7 separate regions of the Homo sapiens genome follow, and all the other regions are linked to region 4. Evidence: promoter capture Hi-C in 16 types of primary human blood cells and fetal thymus (Javierre and others, 2016). All regions are on one chromosome and are shown on one strand. The core of a region is centred on a gene start or on the middle of the fragment in contact, and the rest is flanking DNA. Distances in the headings are between cores, read along the strand shown. Region 1 holds the start of RPS8 (ribosomal protein S8). Region 2 holds the start of LOC105378690 (a long non-coding RNA gene). Region 3 overlaps KIF2C (kinesin family member 2C). Region 4 holds the start of AKR1A1 (aldo-keto reductase family 1 member A1). Region 5 holds the start of SNORD145 (small nucleolar RNA, C/D box 145). Region 6 holds the start of PLK3 (polo like kinase 3). Region 7 overlaps ARMH1 (armadillo like helical domain containing 1).

Region 1 (2,700 bases), core at 144-2,643, 780 kb after region 4:
CCAGGCTGGACTCGAACTCCTGACCTCAGGTGATCCGCCCGCCTCGGCCTCCCAACGTGCTGGGCTTATAGGCGTGAGCCACCGCGCCAGGCCCACTTGGTGAATCTTAAGACCGTTTAGGTGCGTTTTCCCACCCACTCCCAAAGGGCCTCACTCACACTCTGAGCCCCAGGAGAAATTCCCCACGTCCAACCTCAGGGCACGGTATTTCTTGTTACCTCCCCGCACACGGACTGTGTGGATGCGGCGGGGGCCAATCTGGAAAACACAAGGTTACAGGAACTAGGTTACCAAGGAGAGCAAGGCAAGTGAGGGAGAGGAACCTGGGCCGGGAGGAGGCAACAGTCAGTGTAACTATGACAAGTCCTTGCATTGGCAAGTGGCACACAGGTGACCAAGACGGCCACAACCACGCCTAAGGATTCTTTTTCATCACCCTACTTGCCTCCAAGAGGAAAGCCTGACCCCAAATGCTGAAAATTAAGCCTCTGTAAAAAAAACAAGACTAGGCTTCTGACTATGACGCGAGGCGCCACCCTCTCCAGAAGCTCAAGTCCCCACACAGTATCCTTCTCTCTGAAATCCTAAGCTCCAGGTTTGGGGGCCTGAGGGAGCATTCCCTCTTTGGTACTTACTTATCCAACAGCTAAAGGGGGACAGGACACCCAGGCCCTACTACAGAGAAATCAGAGCCCAAGAAAGAACGCACAACTGTCACACGGAAAGACCCGAGCACGCTGGAGAGCGGGGGAAGGCGACCTCCCAGGCGGACAGGCCCACGCTCGCACCCACCTTGGTGTTGGCAGCTGGGCGCCCCAACTCATACTTCCGCTTCTTGTGGTAGGGCTTTCTCTTGCCCCCGGTTTTGCGGCGCTTGTGCCAGTTGTCCCGAGAGATGCCTGCATGTGGAAGCGGGGAAGGAAGCTTGAGCCACTGTGACTCGGTGCTAGCGACTCGCCAGCTCCCGGAGACCCCCGCGCCGGGCCGGTCGCACGCTCAGCTCTCCAAGGTTGGCTTCCCCACCGCGCACTCGGGAGTATGCAGCATTACCGAGTTGTCATCATACACGTGCGGCCAGGCCGGGGCCTCCTCCTCGCGGCAGCCATGTTGGCGCCGCTCGGAGCCCGCAGCCCGCGGCCCGGAACCCGGAGCCCAGAGCCTTCGCAGCCCCCAGAGACGGGCTGGGCGGCCGAAACCCGAGGGCCACCACTCCTCGTGGCTGTCCCTGGCCGGGGGTCGGGGCGTCTGGACTCCTCAGTAGGCTGTGAAGCAGGATGGGGCCTGATTGAGCTCAACCTCCCTTCACCCGCCTCAATGCAGAGCGACACTCACCCATCGCTCGGCGCTGGCTGGAAAGAGAAACCGCAAAGATTCACGGTTCGGTTTGTAAAACGCTGCCCCGCCCCTTTACTTTACGTTGTTTCTGAGCGCCGAAACAACGTCGGGCGACGAGACTTACGTGTCAGCTGCCGCGCCTAGGGCCACGAGCCTAGGAGGGTCTCGCAGGCTGCTGACCTCTGCCGACCCCCGGCGACTCGCCTCCGACCCTGGGCTGGGGGAAGGGGGTCTGCGGCGTCGGCAGATCTGGGCGTGTTTAGACTAGTTTCAGAGGCTGCTGCGGTCGTTTAGGATGAGATGTGGGTGCGGCTGCGTTGAAAAAGAGTGGAAGGCAATGGAATTGGAAACGAGTGTGGACTTGGGTTTTGTTTTGAAGGGTTTGGTGGTAGATTGGACATGGGGATTGAGGGAGAGGGCGGTGTCAAGGATTCCTAAGATTGTCACTTGATCAATCGGATAAATATTGGGGCCATTTACTGAGATGGGGTAGGCTAAGGTAGGAGCTGTTCTGGACACGTTCATTTTGAGATCTTGCTAAGTCATGTTGAGTGGGACTAACAGATAGGAAGCTGAATATTAATGACTGGTCATCCTTATAAGGGATCTGCACCGAAGATGTTATTTTGGGAATCGTTGGCTTATAAATGGTAATTAAAGCCACCAGAATGAACGGAACTTAGGAAGAGAGTATAAAGGAGGGATCAGCTAACTTTTCTGAGCTAGAAGGATATCTATTTTTTAATTAAAAAAAATTTTTAGGCCTGGCGCGGTGGCTCACGCCTGTAATCTCAGCACTTTTGGGAGGCGGAGGCGGGCGGATCACGAGGTCAGGAGTTCGAGACCAGCCTGGCCAACATGGTGAAACCGCGTGTCTACTAAAAAAATACAAAATTTAGTTGAGCATGGTGACGCACACCTGTAATCCCAGCTACTCAGGGAGGCTGAGGCAGGAGAATCGCTTGAACCAGGGAGCTGGAGGTTGCAGTGAGCCGAGATCGCACCACTGCACTCCAGTCTGGCGACAGAGCGAAACTCCGTCTCAAAACAAAACAAACAAACAAAACAAAATTAGCCGGGCGTGGTGGCGGGCGCCTGTAATTCCAGCAACTCCGTCTGGAGGCTGAAGAAGGAGAATCACTTGAACCGGGAGGTGGAGGTTCCAGTGAGCCGAGATGGCACCAATGCACTCACTCCAGCCTGGGTGATGGAGTAAAACTCTGTCTCAAAAAAATAAAATACACAAGTTATTATTGATTATAGTCACCCTGTTTTGCTATCAAATAGTAGGTCTTATTTATGATGATATTTTATTTTTGTACCCATTAGCCATCCCCACCATCCCCACTTCCCCCTACCCTCCCA
Region 2 (2,700 bases), core at 172-2,671, 830 kb after region 4:
GAACAGACAGGTATCAAGGCTGTTTATTGACTCTTCGCAGCCAGCGGCTCTTCCTCTGCCCCTCTGGGATGCCTAATCCCCGTCTCCCCCCTGGAGCCAAGTGGAGTGGCTCTGAGCTTGACCCCAGGCGCCTTCCTCTTGCCAGGCTTCCCTGCCCCGCAGCCTTGGCCTTCCTGGTTTGCCACAGGGGCTGTTACTCCTTTGATTCTACATCCTCCTCGAAGTGTGTGAGGTAGGCCATCTGAGCCGAATCGCGCGAGCCATAGAGAGTGTTCATGCTGTAGGAGCTGCCATGGAGGCACAGGGCTGCAGGCAGGAAAGGCGGGCGTGAGGCTGTGCTGGCGGCGCCTGCGCCCGGCTTCCCTCGTCCCACACTCACCTTTGGTAACATTGACTGTGTTGGCCGCCAAGATGTCCGCCTGAATGCTGTCTATTTTCATGTACAAGTCCTCAGCGTTGCTCTGAGGACAGGAGCAAGGGGGACCCGGCTGGGGTGCCAGGGCAGTCTGGACTTGGAGTTGGGCTTGGCAGAGGGATGTTGCAGGTGGGGGGCGGGTCGGCAGCCTGACCGAAAGGGCAGGAAAGGGAACAGGAAGGTGGCGGGTGGAGGAGCCTACGCCAGAGCAGTCCCTCCTGCAGCTGGTGGCCAGGTCCACTCTGCATGTGGCGCGCTCCAGGATGGGGACTGTCTGAAGGGGCATCACACTGTCCGAGCCGCCATCTGCTCATTGCGGCGGGGCAGGAAGGGCGCACTTACCAGGAAGAGCTGGTAGAGTTCCTCCCCCATGCACTTGCGCACGTGCTCCGCCACCAAGGGGAACATCTGCACGAAGCACTGCGCCGCGCGGGCGAGGCGGCGTGACTGCGGGGGCGACGGGGCTGCGGGTGCCGCCGCCCTTCCCGCCCCCTAACCAGCCGCCGCGCGCACCTCCAGCGTGAGGCTGGCCAGCCGCTGGCTGTTGCTGTGGTCCGTGTTGCCCATGGCGGCCATTAGGCCACGCACCACGCGCAGGTACAGCAGCTCCTCGGCGATGCTCATGTCGTTGCGCGCCAGGACCCTGGGCCGGGGGTTCGGGCTGGGGCGACGCCCTGGGGCTCACCCGGCGCACACCCCCGCCCACCCGGCGCACGGAGCGCTCCCGGGGCCCGCCGGCAGCGCCAAGCCAGGCTTGCTGCAGCTACCCACTAACCCCTGCCCGCTTACCCGATGGCCTTGGCGGCCGCGGCCTGCTGCAAAAACATCGGCAGGCTGGGGGTGAGCTGGAGAACCGAGGGGTCTGAGGAGGGGGCAGCCGTGAGGCAAGAGACCGCCCTCCCGTGGCCCAGGCAGCCCCATTTGAGCAGGTCCTTACCACTGAGGATCTTGGCCTGCAGTTTGGAGATCTCCTTGACCGACGGTATCAGCAGCGCCACGAGGCCCTTGAGCAGCGCCTGGCGCACATCGTAACCGACCAGGTCTTTGATCAACTCGATGGCTGCGGAAGGGCAGAGGTGCTGGAGAGAGGCCCCAGGCCCCTCCGCCACCGAGGAAGCAAAGAACCCCGTGAACCAAGTCGCCACTCGTCAGTGTCCTCCTCTTTTACTGATCAGCACTGTGCAGGGCGTGGGGGAGCTGGGAAGGCGAACCTCAGTTGAAGAGCAGGAGGAGGGGGCTGAAGGGGGAGGAGGAAGGGTTGGATGGTGAGCCCACCTGTCGAGGCGGCCTAGGATGTCAGCGCTGGAGGCTGAGACCCCAGAGAGGGGGGCCTTCGCCTTGGAGGAATCCAGGTTTCATGGAGGAGGGAAGGGCTGGGTCTTTACGGGAAGACAAGATGGAGAAAGACAAGGGGTGAGAGGGAGACAGAGAAAGTGGGTGGGAGACTTGTGGCAGGAAATGAGAAAGGGGAAGGAAGGTAGGCGGCAGTTTAGAGAAACTCTCCTTCTAACCATCATCGAGCCCTCTCCACCAGGCAGGGTGCCAGGCTTTCCATACAGCACCCGTGGAAGCTCACCAGAACCAGATGAGGTTCACTTCCCCATTTTACCTTTGCCGAAATTAGACACAGAGAGGTAAACCACTTTGCCTAAGTTACACAGCTAGGAAGTGATGGAAGCAGAAGGAGGGGAGGATTTGGTTAGGAAGGAGAAGGGGACTAGAATTTATGGAGGGCATTTCCTGCAGGGCTTTCCTGTAGATATTTTACAGGCAGTCATTCATTCAGTCCAGCATTCACTCAGTCTTTCGGCACGGCTGCATGTGAACGCCTATGGTGCCAGGCGCGGCATTGGGTGTTGAGGATACAGACTGAATTCATTCATTCGACCAACCCTCCTTAAGCGTGCACAAACAGGCAGCGATGATATGGTGACAGGTGCTGTGGAAGGAGTCAGTGATTGGGCTGTGGGAGCACAAGAGAAAATCGGCAAGGATTGAATGTTTTTGTAAAGAAGAGAAAGGAACCACAGAGCTAGAGGGGGCAGGAGGAGAAGGAGATGCTAAGATGATGGCACACCAGCATAAATGCTACCTTTTTTTTTTTTTTGAGACAGAGCCTCACTCTGTCGCCCAGGCTGGAGTGCAGTGGCGCGATCTCGGCTCACTGCAACCTCCGCCTCCTGGGTTCAAGCAATTCTCCTGCCTCAGCCTCCCGAGTAGGCTGGGATTACAGGCGCCCGCCACCACACCCGGCTAATTTTTTTTTTTTTTTTTTTTTGTATTTT
Region 3 (2,700 bases), core at 106-2,605, 800 kb after region 4:
TTCAGGCTGATGGCTATATATAATCCATGTTTTGAATTTTTACAATCGTCCTATTTCCCTAATGATTTTATTTTATTTTTTATTTTTATAATAAGACTGAGTCTTGCTATATTGCCCAGGCTGGTCTCAAACTCCTAGGTTCAAGCCATCTTCCTGCCTCAACATCCCAAAGCACTGGGCTTACAGGTGTGAGCCATCACATCTAGCCCCAAATGATCTGTAATTTTTTTTCTTTGTTTTTTTGAGACCGAGTCTCACTCTGTCACCCAGGCTGGAGTACAGTGGCATGATCTCGGCTCACTGCAACCTCTGCCCCCCCGGGCTCAAACGATTCTCCTGCCTCAGCTTCCTGAGTAGCTGGGATTACAGGCACCCACCACCACGCCTGGCTAATTTTTGTATTTTTAGTAGAGACAGGGGTTTCACCATGTTGGCCAGGCTAGTCTTGAACTCCTGACCTCAGGTGATCCACCCGCCTTGGCCTCCTAAAATGCTGGGATTACAGGTGTGAGCCACCACACCCGGCCAGTTTTTTGTATTTTGAATAGAGACAGGGTTTCACCATGTTGACCAGGCTGGCTTGGAACTCCTGACCTCAGGTGATCTGCCCACCTTGGCCCCTCAAAGTGCTGGGATTACAGGCATGAGCTACTGCTCAGGGCCTTAAAGATTTTTTTTTCCATTAAAATGAGCTGTGTAGCTGGGCATGGTGGTGTGTGCCTGTAGTCCCAGCACTTTGGGAGGCTGAGGCAGGAGGACTGCTTGAAGCTAGGAGTTCAAGACCAGCTTAGGCAACAAAGCGAGACTCCATCCTAAAGAAAAAAAGCTATTGGCTGGGCATGGTGGCTCGCGCCTGCAATCCTAGCACTTTAGGAGGCTGAAGCAGGAGGATCACTTGAGGCCAGGAGTTTGAGACCAGCCCAGGCAACATAGTGAGACCTTGTCTCTACAAAAAAAAAAAAAAAAAAAATTAGCCAGGTGTGATGGGGCACACCTGTAGTCCCAGCTACATGGGAGGCTGAGGTGGGAGGATTGCCTGAGCCCAAGAGTTCAAGGCTACAGTGAGCTACGATCATATCATGGTATTCCAGCATGGACAACCAAGTGAGACCCTGCCTTTGAAAAACAAAACAAAACAAAGCTGGGGCAATATCCTTTGAGGACATGAACACGGAATGGGACTGCTGCGAGTCCCAACTCTCCTGCATGACCTTACGGTACACCCAGCAAGAAAGGGCCAGCACCACAATAGTCAGGCCCAAGCTTGCAATGGCACCACCTTCCACTCAGGGCCCCCAGAACCTGAAGCTCCAGCCAAGTATTCTGTGAGTCCCTGAGGTAGCTGAATCATTTCAGGGCAATGATGACCCCTAGACCTGGAGAGCTGTGCAGGTCACCAGCCTTCAAGGTACAACTGGCTTTAAGCTGGATCTTTTGGGAAGCTTACCCCCTAGAGTCACAGTCTATCATGTTGTCAAAGTAGGTTTTCACAGACTACTTCTGCAGAGAGACTCCCAACCTCCTAGACCACGAGGCAATGCTGTTATTCTCTCCAGCCCCAGCCATCCCTCTCTATAGCGCCACCAACTGTACTTCTAAACAACCCACAGGCCTAGTGTCTCCCATTTTCAAAATCTCTTTCCAAGGCATACTGTTCCACTGAGGGGGCTGAGCCCCGAGGGAAGAAAAAAGGCCTACCAATGGCTGATTCCTACTCTCCTCAGCATCAGGCTCTGGATTCTACAGAAAAGGTTTCTAGGCCAGGCAGCAAATTTCCTAAATGCACCAGGTCTCTTAAAGGTTGGCCTGATAGCTGTAGATTGGATTCTTTCTCATAGAGAAAGATGCTTGGAACACAGGCAGGACTCAACCCACATAGAAACCACCTGCAAAAGAGGAGCTTCCACAACTCTGAGTCCTAGAAACATAATTCCTGACACAAATTCCATGATAGTAAGCTAGTAGAAATCCACTTACTTTCTTTTGGAGCAGGAATTTTGGAGTTGACGGATCTCCGTTTTTGTTTCTGAAAAACAAATCAAATTGTCACAATATATGGCTCTTATCAATTCTCAAGGGCCCATCCTGGGCCCATGTACTATGCTAAAATGCCAGACAATCAATCAGCAAAGAGTCAATAAGCAAAGTGAATTCTCTGGCGCACTGGCTGCAGCCAGATGACAGGCACCTACCTGGATTGTTACATTTTCCTGCAAGGGCAGATTGTCCTTCGGATGTAAGGGAAGAAGCTGTAAGAGTTCTGGGTTTATTGCAGCCACATCATCAAAATCAATCTGCAAGGAGCAAGTAAAAGTTTCAATGAAACAACATTGTTCAATCCAAATACATTTTTTCTTTTTTTTTTTTTTTGAGACAGAGTATCGCTCTGTCGCCCAGGCTGGAGGGCAGTGGTGCGATCTTGGTTCAATGCAACCTCTGCCTCCTGGGTCCAAGCAATTCTCCTGCCTCAGCCTCCTGAGTAGCTGGGACTACAGGCATGCGCCACCACGCCCAGCTAATTTTTGTATTTCCAGTAGAGACAGGGTTTCACCATGTTGGCCAGGATGGTCTCAAACTCCTGGCCTCAGGTGATCTCCCCACCTCGGCCTCCTAAAGTGCTGGGATTACAGGTGTGAGCCACTGTGCCTGGCCCCCCCGAGGCTGAGGCGGGAGAATTGCTGGAATCCAGGAGGCGGAGGT
Region 4 (2,700 bases), core at 71-2,570:
CTGATAGCATGTGCACATCACTACATTTTTCTGTTTATATATAAATTTCCCCCACAAACCTGGCTACTCCTTGAGGTCTGAGCCTGTCATCTGCCTGAACCCCTCACTCCTAGAGTACCTGTCCCATACATACATACATACATACATACATACATACATACATACAATGTACACAATACACACACCACACACACACAGCTTATGGGGGAGAGATCTTGACAGGTTGAGTTTGGCCAGCTGGAAGGACATTTGAGGAAGTCGCTGCCTCTGTCACCTTCTTCCTTTACCTGTTGGAAAACCTGAAAAGAATCCTCTTGGAGAATATCAAAGCACTTTACTATACTCGGCAAAAAATCCCAGTGGACCAGATAGAATCATACTGAGATTGCTCCTGTATTAAAGATAAGGAAACAGATCTTGGAAAAGTAACAGGCCTGCAGCCCTGAGTATGAACGATCTGAAGGGGAAGAGTTAATTAACAGTAGCCTCATCCAGTGAAGGTTCAGATCTGTGTCTTACTTTAACAGAGTTCTGGGGCAACAGAATAACATGTCAGACTTTCTCAGACCCAAAGCAGGTGTCTAAGTAAGAGAATTATCCCCACTTCTCCCCACTTCTGAGAACTATCCCTGCACCTGCATAAGAAAGCCGGAGCAGCTGGAAAAAGCACATAGGTGAGCAAACAAAAAGATGGCAATTAAAACTTGCAGATCACCTAGTATGCGCTGTGCGCCTTCAAAGCTTTATCTCAATTCTTGCTACAGTTCTAATGTAGGACCTCATTTTATTGCTGAGGAAACAGGTTCAGAGAAACTGGGAAGTTAGCAAGAGATCATACAGAGAAAAAGAAGAGCTCAAATCCGAAACCAAGTCTCGTCCCCTCCAGTGCTCTGCGCTCTCCACTCAACCCCAGGGGCTTACATTTCAGTAGTAAAGAATCGAGGCCATCTCCTCCGGGAGAAAGATAGGCCAGCAGCAAGAGAAACTCACCTTGGCACAAGCACAGAGCGTGAATAGGGTACTGTGGCCTGGGCTCAGTTCTGCACCCCGCCAGAGATCCAACGATCCTCAGCTTAAGTCTGGCGGTGAGGGGGAAGTTCCACCCGGAGGGAGGGGCAGGGGCCGGGCATAAAGGATCACGCGCAGGGTGGACCGCCTTCGCCGCCTCCCGAGGAAGGACCTGAAGGGGATGGAAAACAGAGCTGGGAGGTAGTACCGTCTCCACCTCTGGATCCTCGAGGTCGAACTGGCCGGAACTTGGTCACTCACTCCGCAGCGCGGGTTTGGAGAACTCCTGGGCACAATGAGGCAGGTGGCGCTGGCCACGTGGGCGGTGCAAGGGGCGGGGCCAGCCTCGCCTTTTGCTGGCCCACATTGCACCGCGCGCCTAGGCGCCGCCGCAGGCGCTTTTCCGGGGGAAGTAAGGTAGCAGATGCCACGTTGCAGGTTCTTCTGGTGTCGGCCCTCCGGATTCACAATGCCATCCGTGGCTCCATACTCTCCCTAAAGTCAGGTTGGCTGGATTCCCAAAGTTCACCTAAGTTGGCCCCGTTACATTTAGTTCAAGCAAACTGAGGCCCAGAGAGCAGCTGCAACACCAAGATTGGCCAGAATACAGAAGACCTCGCGTCTGCAGATCCAGGCGCTGGAAAGTGCCTGGTCCCCCTGTCTGGACCATAGACCCCGCCCAGCACGTTATGTGCCAGGCACTGTGCTTAACACTTAATAAACATGGTTTTATTGAATCTTCATAATAATCCTGGAAAAGGAATATTCCTTTTTTTTTTTTTTTTTTGAGACGGAATCTCGCTCTCGCCCAGGCTGGAGTGCAGTGGCGCGATCTTGGCTCACTGCAACCTCCGCCTCCCTGGTTCAAGCAATTCTCTGCCTCAGCCTCCCGAGTAGCTGGGATTACAGGCGCCCGATACCACGCCTGGCTAATTTTTTTGTATTTTTTAGTAGAGACGGGGTTTCGCCATCTTGGCCAGGCTGGTCTTGAACTCCTGACCTCGTGATCCACCCGCCCTGGACTCCCAAAGTGCTGGGATTACAGGAGTGAGCCACTGCGCCTGGCCGAAAAGGAATATTCTTTTATTTCGTACAAGCCTTTTTAAAAATCGTAGTATAGCATATATACAGAAAATACACCAGTCTTTTTTTTTTTCTTTTTCTTTTTTTCCTATTCTACATCCAGGAAGAAAGAAAATGTATAAATCTTAAATGTATACAGTTCTTTTTTTTAAATTATTTTTTGCAATGTAACTGCCATCCAGAGGAAGATATTACCAGCACACCATAAGCCTGTGAGGAAAGTATTCATAATCCATTTTACAGATTGGACAGACTCAGCAAGGTTAAGGCTATTTATAATTTTCCCAAAGTCACACAGGTATTAATTAAATGACACATCTGCGATTTGAAATAGTCTGTGCTGTTTGAGTGGAGAGGTGTCTTGCATGTATGTGTTTTCCTTGGCAGGGATGGGCAAGACACAGGGTTATCTCGGTTTGGCTCTGCTTTTCCCCACACCTTTACTCCCTGAGAGCAACTCTTCCCATTTCCCCACCCCCGTTATCCCCCACTGTCTCCCCAACATAAGTGATGTCCTGGTGGACCAAATGTCTAATGTATCAGGCCATCCTCATAAAAACAATCAGACTTGGCCGGGTGCGGTGGCTCACGCCTGTAATTCCAGCACTC
Region 5 (2,700 bases), core at 77-2,576, 880 kb after region 4:
GTTTTTGATGGCTTCACTCACTGTCACCAGGGCCTGGGAGGGATGATGTACCAAGTGAGCTGAATGGAATCACTTGGCAGCACTGTAGGCCCAAGCCAGAGCTGCTCTGACATCCCAGGCCCAGGCCGTGCCACCCCTCCTCCCATCCAGAGAATGGTCAGCCAAGTCCCACCTAGATCCCCTCTGTGACTTGCTCATAGGCCAGCAACCTTCTTAAAGGCACCGTGTGGCTCTCATGTTCAGTAAACATAAAGAAAAATTCATTCATAGAATTAATGAGTCTGGGGCCTGGTCATGGGACAAACATTTTGCTCTTAAAGTAAACAGAAGGTCTTAAGGGGATCACAGAGAGGGGAAGTGAGGGGGTTTTTGCTCCCCAGGTTTTACCGCATGCCTTTTTTGCTCATCACTGGCTGAGGTCAAAGAAATATAGACATCATTTTAACCCTCAGGAAGTTGTCTCGGACACCCAGGAGACAGTGCTGAAGGGTCTGGACCACCATGGTGGGCCCTGTGGTGGGAGAGGCTTCCTAGAGTAGAGCAGCCCAAGCTGGACCTGAAGCTTCAGGAGGGCTGACAGACCCCCATGGTGAGCAGCAGAAAGTGTGGAAGTCAAGTCCATGGCCATACCACCTTGAACATGCAGATCTCAGAAGCTAAGCAGTGTCAGGCCTGCTTGGAACTTGGATGGGAGAAAGTGCAGAAGTAAATCCCTGAAGGGGGACAGTGAGTGGCTGGAGGGAACAGGGGCCTGGCAGGAGGCCGCGCTGTGCTTTTGTGGGTGGAGAATTAGATGAAAACCTGAAGATCTGTCATGATGGACAGACCTCAAAGACCCAGGTGAAGAGAGTCGTTTGGGATTTGATCCTTGTCTTGTCTACGAGGACCCCAAAGGTCTTTTTTTTTTTTTTTAATACAGAGGAGTTGTATTTATTTTTGGAATCATGATCTCTTTTCTTTCACCTCTAGATAAGAGCCCTTTCTGGCTGGGCGTGGTGGGTCACACCTGTAACCCCAGCACTTTGGGAGGCCGAGGTTGGCGGATCACCTGAGGTCAGGAGTTCGAGACTAGCCTGACCAATATGGAGAAACCCCATCTCTACTAAAAATACAAAATTAGCCGGGTGTGGTGGCGCATGCCTATAATCTCAGCTACTCAGGAGGCTGAGGCAGGAGAATCGCTTGAACCTGGGAGGCGGAGGTTGCAGTGAGCCGAGATTGTGCCATTGCACTCCAGCCTAGGTAACGAGAGCGAAACTCCGTCTCAAAAAAAAAAAAAAAAAATAGGATGCTTTCTAAGTGTCTGCTCTATGCCAGGTGCTGGTGCTGTACTAGACCCTGGATTTGAGATCCAGGCCTCTTTGCAGGCCTCCTTTTCTCTGAATGTCTGTGGTACTTAACACTGTTAACCATGTTCTATCCACATGCCAGGCCCACCAGGAGCTCCTTTCATTATTTTATTAATCCTCACAACCACCTTGTGAAGTAGGGAGAACCCTTAATCCTGTTTTACAGATGAAGAACAGATGCTCGTGGGGAGGTAAAGTGTCTTGCCCAAAGTAATTCCAGATTTCAGCTTAAGAGCCTTACTCCAGAGCTTGTGCATGCCGAGATTTCAGTTGCCATTAGGAGGGGCTGCCTGAATACGATGCCATTTCTAGGAAACAATTAGGGACATGCACAAAGAAAGGGGTGTCCATTAAAGTATTTTTATAACAGCAAAAAATTGGAAACAGCATCATATCCAATAATGGGAGATTTGGTCACCATAAATTATGAAACATTCTATAGCCTCTCTGAAGCCACTAAAAATAATGGTGTAGAAATATATAAACTGACAGGGAAAAATGTTCACAATATATTGCCAAACGGAAGAAAGCAGATTACAAACAATATGATTCCAATTTTATTAGATATTCATTTTCTACTTTTTCTACAGTGAGTATGCATTACTTGTGAAGTAATAATAATTTCAATTTATTGAACTCTTTCCTTCTGCCAGGCACCATGATAAGCCCTCTATAGCTATTATCATATTTAATTCTTTGTATCATTGTCCCCATTTCACAGATAAGGAAATTGAAGCTTAGAGAACTTGATTAAGGTCTGTGTCATAGTTATTAAGTGGCAGAGGCAGAGATTTGAACCGAGATATGATTTTGTACAGTATGTACTCTTAGATACTATGCTACTCTGCTCTGCTCTTCTTTTAAAAAGTAAATAAAAAATAAAGTAATTTGGCCGGGTACAGTGGCTCACGCCTGTAATCCCAACACTTTGGGAGGCCGAGGGGGGTGGATTGCTTGAGCCCAAGAATTTGAGACCAGCCTGGGCAACATGGCCAAACCCTACCTCTGCAAAATAATACAAAAATTAGCTGAGCATGGTGGTGCTTGCCTATAGTCCCAGCTACTTGGGAGGCTGAGGTAGGAGGATTACCTGAGCCCAAGAGTTCGAGGCTGCAGTGAGCCATGACTACACCACTGCCCTCCAGCCTGGGCAACACAGAAAGACCTTGTCTCAAAGAAGAAAAGAAAAATTTGATTTAAATATAGGAACTGTGAGACACTAGAAAGTTTTTCTGGGGAGTAGAGAAAATTAAGACTCTTTCAATTTTTTGCATGTTATTTTATTTTTATTTTTATTTTATTTTATTTTTAAGACAGAATATCGTTCTGTCGCCCAGGCTGGAGTGCAGTG
Region 6 (2,700 bases), core at 24-2,523, 750 kb after region 4:
GCCGGGCCTTCCAGATGTGGGCCAGGGACTGCAGAGAGCCACTGCCTCAGCCCCTGGTGAGCCCTCCCTCCCCCTCCCCCTCCATCTGTGCTCCCTGAGGAAGAAACAGGGCCCCAGCTTTGGGTCTTAAGACTGTCTTCTCGGCTGGGTGTAGTGGCTCACGCCTGTAATCCCAGCACTTTGGGAGGCCAAGGCAGGTGTATCACAAGGTCAGGAGTTTGAGACCAGCCTGACCAACAGGGTGAAACCCTGTCTCTACTAAAAATACAAAAATTAGCCGGGCGTGGTGGTGCATGCCTGTAATCCCAGCTACTCAGGAGGCTGAGGCAGGAGAATTGCTTGAACCCGGGAGGCAGAGATTGCAGTGAGCCGAGATCGCGCCACTGCACTCCAGCCTGGGCAACAGAGCAAGACTCCATCTCAAAAAAAAAAAAAAAAAAAAAAAAGACTGTCTTCTCTCCCTCACTCTCATCCCTGCGGGAATCACCATCTTTCACCTTTCGGCTGCAGAGCTCCAAGAAAATGTAGATGTTGTCAGCGTCCTCAAAGTGGTGCGAAAAACGCACGATGTGGCGGTGCTGCAGGTCTCGGTGCAGCTCAATCTCATTTAGGATCTGCGATGAGGGCGCGGAGTCGTCATCCTTCCATGGTTCCCATGCCACCGTCCCCACCCCACCCCTCGCCCGCTGAGCCTGGACCCACCTTCTCGCGCTGATGCGGCTTGGCGACGCGGCTCTGCGGGATGACTTTGACAGCGTAGGCGCTGCCAGTCTCTGTGTCAGTGGCCTCGTAGCAGCGGGCGAAGCCCCCCTGTGAAGAGGGGGCATCAGGCTGGTTGTTCCAGGGGGGCCGAGTCTGGCCCGCGGGCGTCCCCGCGTTGGGGGTCAAGTGCCCACGCCCTGCTCGGCGCCAGAAAAGAGGCCGGCCGGGACCCCCACCTCCACCATCACCACCCCGCGGACGTCCCTCGGCCCACCTTGCCCAACAAGCGGCCTTTGAGGTAGGTGCGGCCGCTGCGCGGGTCCGTGATGAGGCGCCCGGGGTCTGACGTCGGTAGCCCGGCCAGCATCTCCAGCTCAGGTCCGCGCAAGGCACTCGGAGGCGGCCCGGGCCCGGCCGGGGGAGCGGGCGCGGCGGCCGCACGCTGGAAGGGGCGCGGAGACAGGAAACCGGCGGCAGGCTCCATGCGGCCGGCGCGTCGCAGCGCGGTCCCGGCTTCTCGGTTCCGCCCGGCCCCGGCCGCGCGTGGCGCTGCCTGGATTTGCTACGCTGCGCTGGCGCCCAGGGGAGCCCAGCGTTTTATCAATGAACGCCTGCCCCCTCCCCGGCGTCTGGTCACCGAGAGTCCCGCCCCCTTCCTAGCAGCGAGTCGAGGAGAGGCCACTCCCATTCCCGGCCTTACATCACCCAGAAGCTCCTCCCCCACCCAACGCACTGCCAGACCCCGCCTCCTCGCCGCGCCCCGGGGCGCAGCCCGGCAGCTAGTCACCATGCAGGTGCAACCAGGCCGCAGGGGCCAGCTGATCCCTGTCCGCCTCTCACCCCTCCTTGGCCACTGCGAGTCCCGCTCGTGGGGGCCTCTTTCTTTCCCCATCCTTCGGGATGTGTGCTGAAGTCCGAGTGGGGCCCGGGCATCTGGGGGCGTCTCCCCAGCAACTAGATAGATCAGCGTTCCAGCCAGCAGCGGAGAGGCAGGGGCGGCGCTCGCTTTTGCCCGGGCATGTTACCCGACACTCCCCTTTCAGTGTGCCGGACCGCGTGTGTCCCTCGCCCTCGCCCGGGGCCCGGCCCAGTGCTGCCCTCTTTAGGGCCTGGAAGGAAGGCACAGTCTCGCGCCTGGCTTGCCTGGCCCGAGGGCTGCCTTGCCAGGTTTAGGAGTCAAGCAGAGTCTGGAATTTCAAGGCTTTTACCATGCTCCAGGCCACATCTTCCGCTACCCACTTCTACACTCTTGAGGGGCAAATTTCGGGTTCCTCCGGGGTCCGCAATTCCCTTCCTCTGAAAATACCCCCGGGCCTGGGTCAGCAGCCAGAGGCCAGAAAGTGAATGGGAATTGGATTTTCTTTTTTCTTTCTTTCTTTCTTTTTTTTTTTTTTGAGACAGAGTTTCGCTCTTGTTGCCTAGGCTGGAGTGCAATGGCGCGATCTTGGCTCATCGCAAACTCTGCCTCCCAGGTTCAAGCGATTCTCCTGCCTCAGCCTCCCGAGCAGCTGGGATTACAGGCATGCGCCATCACACCCGGCTAATTTTGTATTTTTTTTTTTTTAAGTAGAGACGGGGTTTCTCCATGTTGGTCAGACTGGTCTGGAACTCCCAACCTCAGGTGATCTACCCGCTTCGGCGTCCCAAAGTGCTGGGATTACAGGCGTGAGCCACCTTGCCTGGCTGGGAATTGCATTTTCTCAAATGCTAGACACGGGCACTTGGGCAGCTAGTCTCTGGACCACGTGGACCCCTAGACCCCTGCGCAATGCCCACCCTTCCCAGGGCCAGAGACAGAGGCCCAGGACCACAGGCCTCCTGGCCTTGTCTCTCACCTCTCTGCCCTCCCTCTGTGCCAGCCAATCAATTACCATGCCATTCCTCAAAGATTTATTGAGAGCATCTGCTAAGTGCTGGACACTATCTCGAATAAAACTAATCAAGCTTGCAGCCCTCATTTAGTTTACATTCTGCTTGATGGAAACAGACAATAGGCAA
Region 7 (2,700 bases), core at 101-2,600, 860 kb after region 4:
GTCTCAGTCACCTGAGTAGCCGGGACTACAGGCACGTGCCACCATACCCAGCTATTTTTTTTCTGTATTTTTTGTAGAGACAGGGGTCTCGCTATGTTGCCCAGACTAGTTTCGGACTTGTAAATTCAAGCAGTCCTCCTGCTTCAGCCTTCCAAAGTGTTGGGATTACAGAGGTGAGCCACCATGCCAGCTTTATTTTTTGTTTGTTTTTTTCTTCCTTTTTGTGGAGAATGGAGTTTTGCTATGTTGCCCAGGCTGGTTTTGAACTTCTAGGCTCAAGCGATCCTCCTGCCTCTGCCTCCCTTTAAGTATTGAGATACTGGCGTGAGCCACCACACCCAGCTAGTCTTGTTTTCATAGTCACTCACTATACATATTTCTGGTCTATTATTTCCAGGAATTAGTTCCAGAACACATGGTTTGAGTCCTGGATCTAGAGAACAGGGGATGAAGGAGCAATGTTGGGGCCACAAGATCAGCAGTTGCTAACAAGTACCAGCTCCTATTGTGTGCGGGGCACTGTGCTAACTGCTTTGCTTGCATTGTCTCAAATAATCCTCACCATGGCCCTCCAGTGGGTGCTATTAGCATTTCCATTTACTTCCTGAGTAACATGAGGTAACAATCTCAGGTCAATAACTTGTCCAAGGTCCCACAGTGAACTGCTGGAACCGGGATTTGAACCTAGGCAGTCTGACTAGGATTCTAACTCTTACTGTTAGGCCTTCTGGCTTGTAGACAAATGGAGGGAGGGCGCTTTGCAGATGAACTCCCAGTGTGGTGTCGCAGGTGGAGCTGTGGTCTGCACGGTCCACTGAGTAGGAGACATGATGGTGTATAGGCTTTCGGACAGACACCCGGTTCTAACTTTATCTCTACCATGTGCTAGTAAATTACTCAACCTTTTCAAGGCTCATCTTTCTTATCTATAAAATGGAATAATACCAATCACCTATTAGGCTGGGTGTTAGGCCCAAATGACATAATATTTGTACAGTATATATCTCAGTGCCTAGAACATAAAAAGACTCAATAGGCTGGGCCCAGTGGCTCACACCTGTAATCCCAGCACTTTGGGATCCCAGCACTGAGGAGGGTGAATCACTTGAGGTCAGGAGTTCAAGACCAGCCTGGACAACATGGTGAAACCCCGTCTCTACTAAAAATATAAAAATTAGCTGGGCACGGTGGTGCATGCCTGTAATCCCAGCTACTCGGGAGGCTGAGGCAGGAGAATCGCTTGAACCTGGGAGGCGGAGGTTGCAGTGAGCCGAGATTGCACCACTGCACTCCAGCCTGGGCAATAGAGTGAGACTCTGTCTCAAAAAAAAAAAAAAAAAAGAAAAAAAGAAAAAGACTCAATAAATGGTAACTAATTTTATCATTTAATACATAAATCCTTAGTTTTACTGATCTATTCTGAAAGTTCAAGGTTGAAAAAAGGGTTTAGGCTTATTGGGACTATGTGGTAGTCAATTTTGCAAAAAATAATGATGCTGTGATGCTATTATATTGACTTGTTTTCCTCCAAAATCCACCATAACTGGAGGGCTGAGTAGGAGAAGTGGGTTTGCTAATTCAAAACACTGTTATCACATCACGCAGTCTATTTTATCTGTTGTACGACAAGGCTGCAAAAAGTTAGGGAATTATGAATAATTCTAGGTGTAGAACACTGAATCTACAACTGTTCAGTAAAAGCATGGTTCATTCATTTAGTAAGCACTGACTGAGTACCCACTAAATTTTAGGCACTATGATTGGCACTTGAGAAATGAAGAAGAATGATGTAATGCCTAATGTAATAAGTGCAATGACCAAGTAAAAAAGCACAGAATGCTCAGACACACTGACATTTAAGTGGGGGATTGGAGTGGGAGAGATCCTGCAATAGCAACTGAGAAACAGCGGGAAAAGGTAGAAGAGAGGACAGCTTAAGAGGGGGCAGTGGTCAAGCAAGGCCAGGACTAGGGTGAGGTGAGGGAGGCACTTGCTTGGGGTCTGAAATTAAAAGGGGCACCAAAAAACTCAGTAATCACATAATATTTCAATGCACTATTTAAAACAATCAAATTAATATAAAAAGTCCATGATGGGCCAGACATGGTAGCTCACACTTATAATCCCAGCACTTTGAGAGGTCAAGGTGGGAGGGTTGCTTGAGCCCAGGAGTTTGAGATGAGCCTGGGAAACAGCAACAGCAAGATCCTGTCTCTACAAAAACATAATAAAATTAGTTGGGGATGTGGTGGTGCATGCCTATAGTCCCAGCCACTTGGGAGGTTGAGGTGGGAGGATGGCTTAAGCCCGGGAGGTTGAGGCTGCAGAGCTGTGATGGCACCACTGTGCTCCAGCCTGGGTGACAGAGTGAGAGTGAGACTCTGTCTCAGACAACAACAACAACAAATCCATGATGAGATGAATAAGACATCACAGTGTTAAATAGACAGGATCTGACCCTGCACCTGTACCACCCTGGCTTACTCATCTCACCCTGTGGCCAAGTGGAAAATATTGTTCAGTAAGACAAGGAAGGAAAAAGGAACTCTAGATTTGGCCACAAAGCTAGGGACTTGGTGAGGCTAGTGTCATGAGTTGTGGGGACAGGAGCCAGGTTATAGGCAGCAATGTTTCTCAAAGCATAACCCGGGGACCACTGGCACTACAGCCACACAGAGTACTTGTTAGAAATAAGGGTCC

What was found. The method cuts DNA at HindIII sites, captures the fragments that hold promoters and counts their contacts. A CHiCAGO score of 5 or more calls a contact.
Region 1: the fragment with the promoter of RPS8 here is called in contact with the fragment with the promoter of AKR1A1 in region 4 in 3 of 17 cell types (total CD8 T cells, activated CD4 T cells and naive CD4 T cells); the score reaches 7.1 in total CD8 T cells.
Region 2: a contact is called between a fragment that was not itself captured here and the fragment with the promoter of AKR1A1 in region 4, in 10 of 17 cell types (total B cells, naive CD4 T cells, total CD8 T cells and 7 more). The highest score is 12.0, in total B cells.
Region 3: a contact is called between a fragment that was not itself captured here and the fragment with the promoter of AKR1A1 in region 4, in 5 of 17 cell types (erythroblasts, naive B cells, fetal thymus and 2 more). The highest score is 7.1, in erythroblasts.
Region 5: a contact is called between a fragment that was not itself captured here and the fragment with the promoter of AKR1A1 in region 4, in 1 of 17 cell types (activated CD4 T cells). The highest score is 5.9, in activated CD4 T cells.
Region 6: a contact is called between the fragment with the promoter of PLK3 here and the fragment with the promoter of AKR1A1 in region 4, in 12 of 17 cell types (M0 macrophages, activated CD4 T cells, fetal thymus and 9 more). The highest score is 14.1, in M0 macrophages.
Region 7: a contact is called between a fragment that was not itself captured here and the fragment with the promoter of AKR1A1 in region 4, in 2 of 17 cell types (activated CD4 T cells and total B cells). The highest score is 6.1, in activated CD4 T cells.

What each region holds. Positions count from the first base shown.
Region 1 is chr1:44,774,233-44,776,932 of GRCh38, reverse strand. It overlaps RPS8 (ribosomal protein S8), which reads right to left and starts at 1,393. Exons shown (of 6, transcript NM_001012.2): 1 at 1,333-1,393; 2 at 793-899; 3 at 159-258. The coding sequence starts at 1,336. It overlaps SNORD55 (small nucleolar RNA, C/D box 55), which reads right to left and starts at 1,068; the gene lies at 995-1,068. SNORD46 (small nucleolar RNA, C/D box 46) reads right to left here and starts at 441; the gene lies at 344-441. RefSeq lists an enhancer at 770-1,059 and a silencer at 1,140-1,349. The HindIII fragment of the contact is 3,101 bases long and covers 927-2,700 here.
Region 2 is chr1:44,722,897-44,725,596 of GRCh38, reverse strand. It overlaps ARMH1 (armadillo like helical domain containing 1), which reads right to left. Exons shown (of 12, transcript NM_001145636.2): 7 at 1,353-1,475; 8 at 1,205-1,277; 9 at 929-1,058; 10 at 758-835; 11 at 380-461; 12 at 6-306. The coding sequence ends at 194. LOC105378690 (a long non-coding RNA gene) reads left to right here and starts at 1,478. Exons shown (of 5, transcript XR_007066059.1): 1 at 1,478-1,562. RefSeq lists a silencer at 1,866-2,160. The HindIII fragment of the contact is 4,387 bases long and covers 1-2,700 here.
Region 3 is chr1:44,746,978-44,749,677 of GRCh38, reverse strand. KIF2C (kinesin family member 2C) reads right to left here. Exons shown (of 21, transcript NM_006845.4): 3 at 2,193-2,294; 4 at 1,978-2,026. Among named protein-coding and RNA genes, the nearest start is that of KIF2C, 8.5 kb to the right of the region's middle. The HindIII fragment of the contact is 179 bases long and covers 1,266-1,444 here.
Region 4 is chr1:45,549,446-45,552,145 of GRCh38, reverse strand. It overlaps AKR1A1 (aldo-keto reductase family 1 member A1), which reads right to left and starts at 1,320. Exons shown (of 9, transcript NM_153326.3): 1 at 991-1,320. RefSeq lists enhancers at 848-1,067, 1,298-1,527, 1,578-1,637. The HindIII fragment of the contact is 4,529 bases long and covers 744-2,700 here.
Region 5 is chr1:44,668,382-44,671,081 of GRCh38, reverse strand. All of the region lies in intron 1 of TMEM53 (transmembrane protein 53), which reads left to right. SNORD145 (small nucleolar RNA, C/D box 145) reads left to right here and starts at 26; the gene lies at 26-125. The HindIII fragment of the contact is 1,523 bases long and covers 565-2,087 here.
Region 6 is chr1:44,798,950-44,801,649 of GRCh38, reverse strand. PLK3 (polo like kinase 3) reads right to left here and starts at 1,273. Exons shown (of 15, transcript NM_004073.4): 1 at 977-1,273; 2 at 703-810; 3 at 498-614; 4 at 1-28. The coding sequence starts at 1,186. RefSeq lists enhancers at 597-646, 1,417-1,806, 1,857-1,916, 1,601-2,269 and a silencer at 1,037-1,316. The HindIII fragment of the contact is 10,835 bases long and covers 1-2,648 here.
Region 7 is chr1:44,693,151-44,695,850 of GRCh38, reverse strand. All of the region lies in intron 2 of ARMH1 (armadillo like helical domain containing 1), which reads right to left. The region is part of intron 4 of LOC105378690 (a long non-coding RNA gene); the gene reads left to right. Among named protein-coding and RNA genes, the nearest start is that of ARMH1, 20 kb to the right of the region's middle. The HindIII fragment of the contact is 5,253 bases long and covers 1-2,700 here.